Regions from separate parts of the Homo sapiens genome. Here all the other regions are linked to region 1. The links are contacts of gene promoters, found by promoter capture Hi-C in blood cells and fetal thymus (Javierre and others, 2016). All regions are on one chromosome and are shown on one strand. Each heading gives the region's core, a stretch centred on a gene start or on the middle of the fragment in contact. The rest is flanking DNA. Distances are from core to core; before and after follow the strand shown.

Region 1 (2,549 bases), core at 33-2,532:
TTGAGCCCTTTCAGTTCTAACTAAAAGTAATACAACCTTTTAAAATGTGAGTGGCTGGAAAAAAATGCTTTGAGAAAAAAATTTTAAAACAAGGTTAAATGCTGCATTTTCAAAGTACTGTTTGTATTAAGAGTTAATTCAAGTTTAGTTTTCAGATATTTTTAGACTTGAGAAGCTTTTACAGCCTGTAAGTAACTCACAAGTTGTACGCTATAGAGATAGCAAAAAGTGAAATATGAACTTTAAACCACTTCCATTTTTCGATTGATCCCTCCCCTTCCCCCAATACCTACATACATTTACCCTAAAAAGCATCGCTATCTCTAGTTCCACAGCCTCTTTCTCAAGGTCCAGAACCAAGGCCTGGAAGATGTCAACAATATAGGCCTTCCCCATAGGAATCCGCACCGATTATGGGAGTTTAGGGGTGTTCTTCATTACGGTTTCACCAGTCCTACAAGGAGAACGGAAGTGTCCCTGTTGCTCTTGACTCCGACGCTGAGGGCCAGGGGTGGGAGTGTAATGAGAGTGGGGAATGGGTGTAGGATACCGGAATAAGGTCGGTGGCTTTCTGTATGTGGAGTTTGAGACAAGCTCCAAAGTACCGGGACCCTGGAGAGGAATGAGAGTAGGTAAATTCAGCGCCCGGCACTCAGTCTGATTGATTTAGGCAGTGAGGGTCCGCTCAACTAGAGAAACTGTTGCCCCGAAGAAAGCAATCTAGTGTCAGTTCTCTCTTCGGGATTCGGGGGAACAGTCGGTTTTCGGGGCTGCTCCGGGCTCCTCGAGATTAGCGAACACCGGATGTGGGGGAGGGGAGGAAGGTTGGCTGGGAAAGGAGCAGGCGCCGTGGGGGTGGGGTGAACGGGGTGGGGGTGGGGAGGATGGGAAAAGTGAGCGGGAGCCTGGGGCTCCCAGCCAGCCCCGGCGAGGGCCGCGACCGGGAGGTGGGGGGGAGGGGTCGTTACGGCGAAGCTGAAGGATCCGCTCTGACTTCCCGGGATAGGCCGCGACCCAGGGGCGAGGGGAGGCCGCTGCCACTCCCCTCGCCCTCTCCCCCACCTCCCCGGCCCCAAGCCACCCGGGAATCAAAAAAACGGGTCTAGTTACCAGAGAACAGAAACTTTACCGAACCGATGACACTATCCCCGACTCCCGCTTGCTGCCACGTCTTTCTTCTTGCTTGGCCGCTGCCGTCCGTCGTCCTCCCAGCAGCAGCAGCACTAGCAGAAAACCAAGACTGCCAGCGTCAAAGATGGCGCCTGGCTACAGGCTCCGCTCTAAGGCCCGGCCGGTAAAAGTGCCAGCACGACGCAGGGCGCGAGGATTCTGGAAGATGTAGTTCCTCTATGAGGCGATGCCTAAGATGGCTGCTCCGGGTCACAGGGTCACGTGACGGGGGAGGCGCTGGGTCGGGGAGTCCCTTCCCTTCAGAGGAATGCCTCGAAGCCGGCTTTCATAACGTTTTGTTTTTGTTTTTAAATCAAATGAGGTAATAAGCGGGAGGGCCGCAGGAACTGAGACTGCCATTCAGTAAGCGCTCAATTTATTCTTACCAAAGTGTTTGCTTAATGAGTAAATCTCCCAAACCATGTATACATTTAATTTAGAAATAAACTGTACTTTTCCTAAGCATGCAATGTAGAATGATTTGTTAGTTTATTTTTTACTTGAAGAAGTGAGATTGGGCTTTGGGGGGGTGTTTCTTTGATTTCTTAAAGCAAATTTGTGTATTGGAAAAGTAATTCATGCTCGTGACAAAATTCAGGAGAGTTAGTTGGAGGTCGCAATCAGCAGTCTCATCCCTGCTTCATTATTAACATTGTCCCTTATTTTCCCTTTTGAATGTTTTTACTTTTTCCCCCGGTTATAAAAGTAATACACGTGGCCGGTGCGGTGGCTCACGACTGTAATTCCAGCACTTTGGGAGGCCTCGGCAGGCGGATCACAAGGTCAAGAGATCGAGACCATCCTGGTCAACATGGTGAAACCTCATCTTTACCAAAAATACAAAAATTAGCTAGGCGTGGTGGCACGCGCCTGTAGTCCCAACTACTCGAGAGGCTGAGGCAGGAGAATCGCTTGAATCTGGGAGGCAGAGGTTGCATTGAGCTGACATCGCACCACTGCACTCCAACCTGGCGACAGAGTAAGACTCCATCTCAAAAAAAAAAAAAAAAAAAAAAAGTAAAAAACTTAATACACGTAAGTTTTTTTAGAAACAATACAGAAATATAGAGAGTAGAAAGTTAAAATCTCTATTAATCTCATTCTTGAGAAATAGCTCTCATTAACTTACCATATATCCTTTCTGGCTTTTACACTGAAAATATACTTAAATATATTACACATATAATAGGAGCCCAAGGTCCCCCTGGGGTAGTGGCTCAGCAGAACTCTAATTAGGTGGCAACATTTTACCTAACTTGGGTAAAGGATATAGTTGTGCTACTAAGAAAGGAAACACTTGATGATAAAGCAGATGGGACTTCAGGCACCTTTTATTTCCTCGTGTGCTTGTTCTTCCAGCTGCCGGGTTGGTGATGTGC
Region 2 (2,549 bases), core at 37-2,536, 840 kb after region 1:
TGAAATAGTATTATTTTATTCCCACTTTTCAGATGAGGTAATTATCATTTGGAGGGGTTCAGTAATGTGCTCAAGATCATAGACTGGCCTGGGACAGAAGCTTGGCTCTATGTGACTCCAGAGCCCATGCTTTTAACTAGGACCAAGAGAATTAACCCCACGTCCCTGAAGCACCTATATCAGATTACAATGAGTCACTTTCTCTGCCTCTAGAATGGCACTAGTTGCACAGTGAGCTATGATATGATTGCACCACTGCATTCCAGCCTAGGTGACAGTAAGAACCTGTCCCTAAAAAAGAAAAATTAAAAATTTTTTTGAGTTAACAGCCATATTGAGGTACTGTGCCAAGTACTCTATCTACATCAGATAGTTTAATCCTTATGATAATCCTGTGAGTTAAAGGTTTGCTCACAAGAGGAAGATTGACATTGCTTTTCTGCTTTTCAGCAACTGTGTATTGCTGTATCTGGGGCTCCAGAGCATGGGGCTCTAGAGTCACATAGAGCCAAGCTTCTGTCCCTGGCCAGTCTGTGACCTTGAGCATATTAGTGAACCCCTCCAAATGATAGTTACCTCATCTGAAAAGTGGGAATAAAATAATACTATTTCATTCTTGGGAGAAATGAGAAAATGGCCAGACCCTGAAATCCCCTTCTGTGTTGTGTGGTTCAGACAAGGGCTGCACTACCCTATGTTGTCTCGCGATCTGCACTCTAGGTGCCTGTGGGAGCAGGAACTGGGGCACGGGTTCACCAGCAAGAGTAGTTAGAAACAATTCTGCTCTCTGATAAGAAAATAACAGGAGGCAGACTGAGGTCTAGCCCAGGGCCTGGCACATGGTAGGGGCTCAATAAATAGTTTGTGGAAGGGAAGGAAGGACCATGCGGTTGAAGAAGAGATTAAGAAGTGTTTCAGAGGTGAAACGACTAGCCTTGGGGACAGAGGAGATGAGATAAGGTGTATGGTAGAAAATTCAGCATTCCCTCCCGACGTTCTGTCTCATTCTCTGAAATTTCTTCTCCATCACGCACTTCAGGCTGCGATAACGAGGTGGAGTGTAGAATCCGACGAACGTCCTCTACCCCGGGGCGGGTGGAGGTTACCTGGCTGCGGCGGGGAGGTGGGCAGGCGGCAGGGAAGGCGGGGCAGCAGGGCGGGGCCCGGGGCGGGAGGTGTGGCCGGCGGGCGCGGGCCTGTGATTGGGACTCCGCGAGAGGGCCTAGGATTGGAGGGCCCAGGCAGAGCCCGCGAGGAGGTGACGCGGCTGCGGAGGTGACGCGGGAGGTCGCGCGCCCCTTCCGGCGCGGGGAGGGCGCTGAAGATCGGGGCCGCTCGGCCGCAGGCCGCCTCCAGCGCCGCGGGATGTAGCGCGGGGGACCGCGGCCCCCAGCAGAGCCCGCCTGCCCGGCTGTAAGTCTCCCAGGGGCTGCGCGGTGGGCAGGGACTCGGCGGGAGCGCGGGGACCCCGGGGGCCCCGACCCAGGCCTGCGGAGGAGACAGCTGTTGGGGGAACCCGCTCCGACTTGCCAGGGGGCTCGGGCCCCAGCCAAGGAGCCGCCTGGCCTCCAGGCATCCAGCCGGTCAGGTTGTAAACATTTCCGGCCCCTCCCACTGCGCGCCGCCTCCGAGGCGGCCTAGGTGCGGTGGGCGCTCGTCCCCGGCTGTCCCCCGACTCCCGGCAGTCCTGTGAGTGCTGCGCCTTTAGCCCCACGGGGTGGAGATGCATGGGTTCCCCAGATCGGGACCAGAGAGCCAGAGTTAAGCCTGGCCCCGAGGCCGCCGCGCGTGGGGAGGGAGGGCTGCGGGCCTAGGTCGCGAACCGCCTCTCAGCGGGGAACAGCCGCATTGGGTTGCCAGGAAGCCCTAAGGTTCCTCCACCAACAATCTTTGGCAGGTCAAGTCCTGACAGTGCCCTCACTTTGATGGGGTGGGAAGGGAGGTTGGTGATCGCTCTGCAGGGTTAAGGTAATCCTGAAGGCTGAAATGCGGGGCAGAATCGAAGGTACTTTGGGGGAAAATGAAATTTCATTACCTTAGGTATCTAGGATTGATGTATTCTATCTTCTGTTTGAGAATTTTGGTCTTCAAGCCTTCGATTTTTAAGAAAATAGATAAGTGTTTTTTTTCCCTCAGTTTCTGGTGCTCTTTGGGAGAATGGGAAACTGACAAGGCCAATTTCAGTTTACACCGTTTCAGATGTCAAAGGAGCGCTAGGAGGCCATGGTACTTTACTAGATTAACCATAGTACTTCCCTCAAGTGATTCAGAAGACGGGCTAGAAAATACAGCGGAGAATACATAGGCTGCCATCTACAAAACAAATGATTGTAATGGCTGGTTCTTTTCTGAAATGAAGTAATAGTGGGGTCGGTTCACTGCTTTTCTCTTTTCCTAGTAGTTGGGTAGGCTACGATGGTGCAACTTCGGTTCCTGAGGTTGTATACTATCTGTATACTGCCAGGAATTTAGGGTGGTGCTAAACAGATTGCAATGTCAGGGTACCGGCTTGCAGCTACTAAATGTATTTACTCCAGGAATAACTTTTA
Region 3 (2,549 bases), core at 31-2,530, 700 kb before region 1:
TGACAGACACAGAGTAAGCTGTCATAAATATTTGTATGGTGAAGAAGTGCACGGACACGTTTTTTAACCCCTGTGGCTCCTGAGATCAGGAGTAGCATCATATACATTATGACATATGTGCAGACCAAGCTGCCTTCAGTTAATTATCAAGATGTTTCACCTACATTCTCTCCTTTGATCATTACGAAAGCGTGATAGGTGAGGACGCTATTCTTGATATTCAGAGGGTGAAGTGGAATACTGAAAGTCACAAGCATTGGGTACAGAAGGCACTGTAGGATCAGAAAGGGGAGTGATCCCTTTCCTCCCCATCATAAGAGTCACAGCCGACACTTCTATAACAAAAGACAAGTTAACCAGAGAAAAGCATAACAAATTTATTTAATCATGGTTTTACTTGAGAGGCTGAGGACCAGGTGTTAATCTTCATAGTCTGTCGAGAAAGAAAGAAGAAATGAGGGCAGTGGAGGAAAACACGATTCACGTTTTTAGGAAAATATACTTTGAGATTAGTGATCGTTGGTACTATGCAAACCAAATGCAAACGAGGAGCTGGCCAACTCATGGTTTCTTTTGGGTGGAGCCTTTAGGAAAATTCTTCCAGAGACCACTGCTGGAAGAAAGGTATTTAGAGTAGAAAATTTAAATATAACATATTGTATGAAAGGTTTTTTTTTTTTACTTTTTTTTCTCACTACCCTAGTTGGGTTGGAGGATCCTCTATCTCCCCTCCCTACTTAGGTTGACTGCTGTTTCCTGGATCGCAGCTCGGAAGATCCACCTGGGCGAATACAAAAACAAACGAGACTCCCCTTCCAGAAAGGGAGGAAGGAAGGAGACAGAAAGACGAATGACACTGAGCGTGTAAAGCCCGGAGACAGCCTCTCTCTACCCCAACCTAACCCTCAAGGTAGGGGATCCCCCGAACATCGCTACCGTAATTATGGTAGAAATTCCTGAAACGGATAACTGGACCTCAGCACCGTCATTTCTAGCAGAATGATTGAGCTTTCCTCTGACCCAAAGCCAAGGGGTTCCAGCAGGGGAAACTAACGACCATCCGCAAAAACCCTCACCCAAGTGGGGAGTGGAAATCCTGGCTCTTGGGTTGCAGAGCACAACTTGACGCCAGCGCGTTTCTCTTCCCCCACGCAATGGCAAGTGGGGCGGGAGTCGGAGGGGAGAGGAGGAGAGGAGAAGAGAAGAGGAGGGGGAAGGGGAGGGGAGAGGCGAAGGGCGGCCCGGGTTCCAGCAGCCGCCCCGCCCTCCGGCTCGCGGCGGATTCGGCGCTGCGGCTGGAGCCGGCGGCCGGGTGCCTGCCTGTCCAGGCAGGGTCTGGCCGAGCGTCGCGTCGCCGTGCAGTGCGCCGGGTGTCCGGGAGATGGCTTCCCCTCTCTCGCCCGCTGCTGCCGCTATTGTCTCACCCGGGGTGGCCTGACTCTGCGAGCTCGCGCACGCTCTCGGCGGAGAGCACCCCTCCCCACCCCCACAAGCTGGTCCTTGCGCCCTTTGCTGCCTCTCCCTCTGCCCCTTGGAGCCTAGGGTCTGTGCGGAGCCTGGAGAGGGGAGCGGCCCGGGAGCAGGCGGCGTGCGGCCGGCCAGCTCCTCTCGCGCTGGTGCAAGAGGCGCCTGGAGCCGCAGAGCGAGCCCGGGAGGCGCGGAGCGAGCAGCCCACGTCGCCAGGCACAAGACACGTCGGATGTTGCAGCAGAGCCAGCAGCTAGCGCAGGTAGGACACGCATCCTGCGGGTTGCATCGGCCCCAGCGTCTGTAAAGTGCCCCCAGAGTGGAGGCAGCCGAGGTCAGGGGGCTCTCCCTCCAACATGGCAACAGCGGAGGTGCAACAATGGAAGCAGCCGAGGGTTCCTGGCGGCGGGCTGAGCGGCGGACGCCGTGGGAGCCTGAGCTCCTGCCCGCCGGGCAGAGCAGGTTGCCCCTCACCCCACTCCACTCCACTCCAGCAGCTTCAGGGCCTCTGGGGCTCCAGGCACCCGCGTCCCCACCCCCTTCTCGCTAAACACACTTCCTGGCTCCCAGCTGCAGGGCGATCTGAACCAGTCAATGGCTTTGGGGTTTGTTTATTTAAGATAAGAAATAAAAAAAGCAAAACCTGTCCTGTGATGGGGTTAGTGCCTTCTGTGGACTGGGTGAGAAGTCGGCATCTAGCCTGGGGAATGTGTACGTTTCTTAGTCGGGCGGAGGGTAGAATTGGATTCTCCCTTATAAGGATACTGCAGCAAAAGGAGACTGAAAGCTTGAAAGAGGGAGAGGGACCCTCAGGCCTGAGTTCGCCGGTGCTGGGAGAAGGCGCTGCTCTCCTGGCCTATACTTGTCCCTCATTTTCAGCTCCCGACAGCGGTGACTTTGATGTTGGAGGAGCAATCGCAGCAGGAAGCACAAGCAAGGCTGCCAAGCTGGTGTGGGGTGGAGTAGGGTGGGGAGCCCAGGGGCTTGGCAGGCTTCTGGATTGTGGGAAGAGGTTACCAAATGTATGAGGTTAGTGCACACACCCTAGTTGGCTGATGTTGAAGTGTGTGTGTGTGTGTGTG
Region 4 (2,549 bases), core at 22-2,521, 620 kb before region 1:
AGGCGGGCAGATCACTTGAGCTGAGTTTGAAACCAACCTGGGCAACACGACGAAACCCTGTCTCTATAAAAATATGCAAAAATTGGCCGAGCACGGTGGCTCACGCCTGTAATCCCAGCACTTTGGGAGGCTGAGGCGGGCGGATCACAAGGTCAGGAGATCGAGACCATCCTAGCCAACATGGTGAAACCCTGTCTCTACTAAAAATACAAAAAATTAACTGGGCGTGGTGGCACACGCCTGTAGTACCAGCTACTAGGGAGGCTGGGGCAGGAGAATCGCTTGAACCCGGGAGGCGGAGGTTGCAGTGAGCCGAGATTGCGCCACTGCACTCCAGCCTGGCGACAGAGTGGGAATCCGTCTCAAAAAAAAAAAAAATTTAGCTGGGCGTGGTGGTGCGAGCCTGTAGTCCCAGCTCCTCGGGAGGCTGAGGTGGGAGGCTCACTGGAGCCCAGGAGGTTGAGGCTGCAGTGAGCCGAGATCGCACTACTGCACTCCAGCCTGGGCGACAGAGCTAGACCCTGTCTCAAATAAATAAATAATAAAAATCTAAGACTACGATAACCCTACAGTTGGCCCGCGGGGCATTCAACCTTCCATGGATTGAAAATATTCGGGAAAAATAAAGATAATAAAACATAATACAAATAAATACAGTATAACAACTAGTTCCATAGCACTTGCATTGTATTAGGTATTATACTTAATCTAGGGGATGGTTTAAATATCTGGGAAGGTGTATGCAGGTTATATGCAAACACTATACCATTTTACATAAGGGACTTGACCGTCTGCGGATTCTGGTGTCTACGGGGTCCTGGAACTAATCCCCATTTCATGAGAGGGGATGACTGTACACACGTCAGTGTGTATTAGGCCATCAAAACGCCTCCGGGAAATTCTCGGGTTATTTTGAAAACCCCTCCCCTCCCCAAGACCTTTAACCTAGAGGGCTGTTGGGGCGGTCTCCTAGGAGACCACACAGAAACGACTGCGCATGCGTGCATTCCCCCCCCCCCCCCCCCCCCCCCCCCCGCCCCGGCTGATGCAACCTCACGCTGCCGTGCGGCTCTACCTCGAGTAAGGAAGCCGACAGGGAAATCTGGCAAAACCAATCGGCGGCCACACGGAAGTGGGCGGAAAGGCCCGCCCCCCGGGGATTTTGCGAGTGACGTTGGGCGGCGCGGCGCTAGGGACGTAGACGCCCAACAGTCCTGCGTCTCTTCCGGCGTCTAGGGGGGTGTCCTGCCGGCGCGCGGGCCCTGCGGCCATTTTGGGCTTCGCTTCCACCGCACCAGCCGGCCTACCCAGTCCTTCCGGTATCGCGTTGCTCAGGGGCTTTTCAACCCTCTGTCAGTCGGAAAACCATCGCCGAGGCCGTGGGGGGACTCCTATCCATGGTGTTGAAGCGTCGAGCCGACTAGGGAACCTCCTTCCCCGCCAGGATGGAAGTCGCATCAGTCGCCGCCTATTGCGCGGGCTGTTCTTCCCTGTGTTCTGCCGCCCGCTGCCGCATTCGCTGCCCTCTGTGGCTTTTCTGCTGGCTCGAAGATCGGCCTGGAGCAGCGACGCCACCGCTGGGCAAGGCCGAGACTCTGTAGGCTTCCTCCGAATCCCGTCGACCTCCAGCCGCTGAGCGCCGCGGCCCTACCTGAGAGACTGTCAAGAAAAAGGAGATGGAGCCGGGGACAGGCGGATCGCGGAAACGGCTTGGCCCTCGGGCGGGCTTCCGGTTCTGGCCACCCTTTTTCCCTCGGCGATCGCAAGCAGGCTCTTCTAAGTTCCCGACGCCTCTTGGCCCGGAAAACTCCGGGAACCCCACACTGCTTTCCTCTGCCCAGCCCGAGACTCGGGTCAGTTACTGGACGAAACTGCTCTCCCAGCTCCTTGCGCCGCTCCCCGGATTGCTTCAGAAGGTGCTAATTTGGAGCCAACTTTTCGGTGGAATGTTTCCGACCAGATGGCTAGATTTTGCTGGAGTCTACAGCGCCCTGAGAGCCCTGAAGGGACGGGAGAAACCAGCCGCCCCCACAGCGCAGAAATCTTTGAGTTCGCTGCAGCTCGACTCCTCAGACCCCTCGGTCACCAGTCCCCTTGATTGGCTAGAGGAGGGGATCCACTGGCAATACTCGCCCCCAGACCTAAAATTGGAGCTTAAGGCCAAGGGAAGTGCTTTGGACCCTGCAGCACAGGCTTTTCTCTTAGAGCAGCAGCTGTGGGGAGTGGAGCTGTTGCCCAGTAGCCTTCAATCCCGTCTGTACTCTAACCGGGAACTTGGCTCTTCGCCCTCTGGGCCTCTAAACATTCAACGCATAGACAATTTCAGTGTGGTATCCTATTTGCTGAACCCTTCCTACCTGGACTGCTTTCCTAGGCTAGAAGTCAGCTATCAGAACAGTGATGGAAATAGCGAGGTAGTCGGCTTCCAGACACTAACCCCAGAGAGCAGCTGCCTGAGAGAGGACCATTGTCATCCCCAGCCGCTGAGTGCAGAACTCATTCCGGCCTCGTGGCAGGGATGTCCACCTCTTTCTACGGAAGGCCTACCA

What was found. Contacts are between HindIII fragments. The CHiCAGO score rates a contact against its expected background, and 5 or more counts as called.
Region 2: a contact is called between the fragment with the promoter of ADIPOR1 here and the fragment with the promoter of ZBED6 in region 1, in 6 of 17 cell types (naive B cells, naive CD4 T cells, non-activated CD4 T cells and 3 more). The highest score is 11.0, in naive B cells.
Region 3: the fragment with the promoter of PIK3C2B here is called in contact with the fragment with the promoter of ZBED6 in region 1 in 5 of 17 cell types (monocytes, fetal thymus, naive CD8 T cells and 2 more); the score reaches 9.4 in monocytes.
Region 4: the fragment with the promoter of PPP1R15B here is called in contact with the fragment with the promoter of ZBED6 in region 1 in 13 of 17 cell types (non-activated CD4 T cells, fetal thymus, activated CD4 T cells and 10 more); the score reaches 23.4 in non-activated CD4 T cells.

Annotation. Positions count from the first base shown.
Region 1 is chr1:203,794,356-203,796,904 of GRCh38, reverse strand. ZBED6 (zinc finger BED-type containing 6) reads right to left here and starts at 1,282. Exons shown (of 17, transcript NM_001395895.1): 1 at 1-1,282. It overlaps ZC3H11A (zinc finger CCCH-type containing 11A), which reads right to left and starts at 1,282. Exons shown (of 18, transcript NM_001376342.1): 1 at 1,111-1,282. RefSeq lists an enhancer at 1,162-1,581. The HindIII fragment of the contact is 5,182 bases long and covers 178-2,549 here.
Region 2 is chr1:202,957,049-202,959,597 of GRCh38, reverse strand. ADIPOR1 (adiponectin receptor 1) reads left to right here and starts at 1,286. Exons shown (of 8, transcript NM_015999.6): 1 at 1,286-1,413. RefSeq lists silencers at 708-757, 1,058-1,617. The HindIII fragment of the contact is 2,157 bases long and covers 516-2,549 here.
Region 3 is chr1:204,493,536-204,496,084 of GRCh38, reverse strand. It overlaps PIK3C2B (phosphatidylinositol-4-phosphate 3-kinase catalytic subunit type 2 beta), which reads left to right and starts at 1,280. Exons shown (of 33, transcript NM_001377334.1): 1 at 1,280-1,729. It overlaps LOC124904584 (translation initiation factor IF-2), which reads right to left. Exons shown (of 2, transcript XM_047439554.1): 2 at 353-1,909. The coding sequence ends at 889. RefSeq lists a silencer at 1,131-1,600 and enhancers at 1,701-1,830, 1,901-2,090. The HindIII fragment of the contact is 4,413 bases long and covers 1-2,256 here.
Region 4 is chr1:204,410,539-204,413,087 of GRCh38, reverse strand. PPP1R15B (protein phosphatase 1 regulatory subunit 15B) reads left to right here and starts at 1,271. Exons shown (of 2, transcript NM_032833.5): 1 at 1,271-2,549. The coding sequence starts at 1,677. RefSeq lists enhancers at 984-1,033, 1,044-1,743, 2,004-2,153, 1,460-2,294 and a silencer at 1,079-1,525. The HindIII fragment of the contact is 5,217 bases long and covers 1-2,549 here.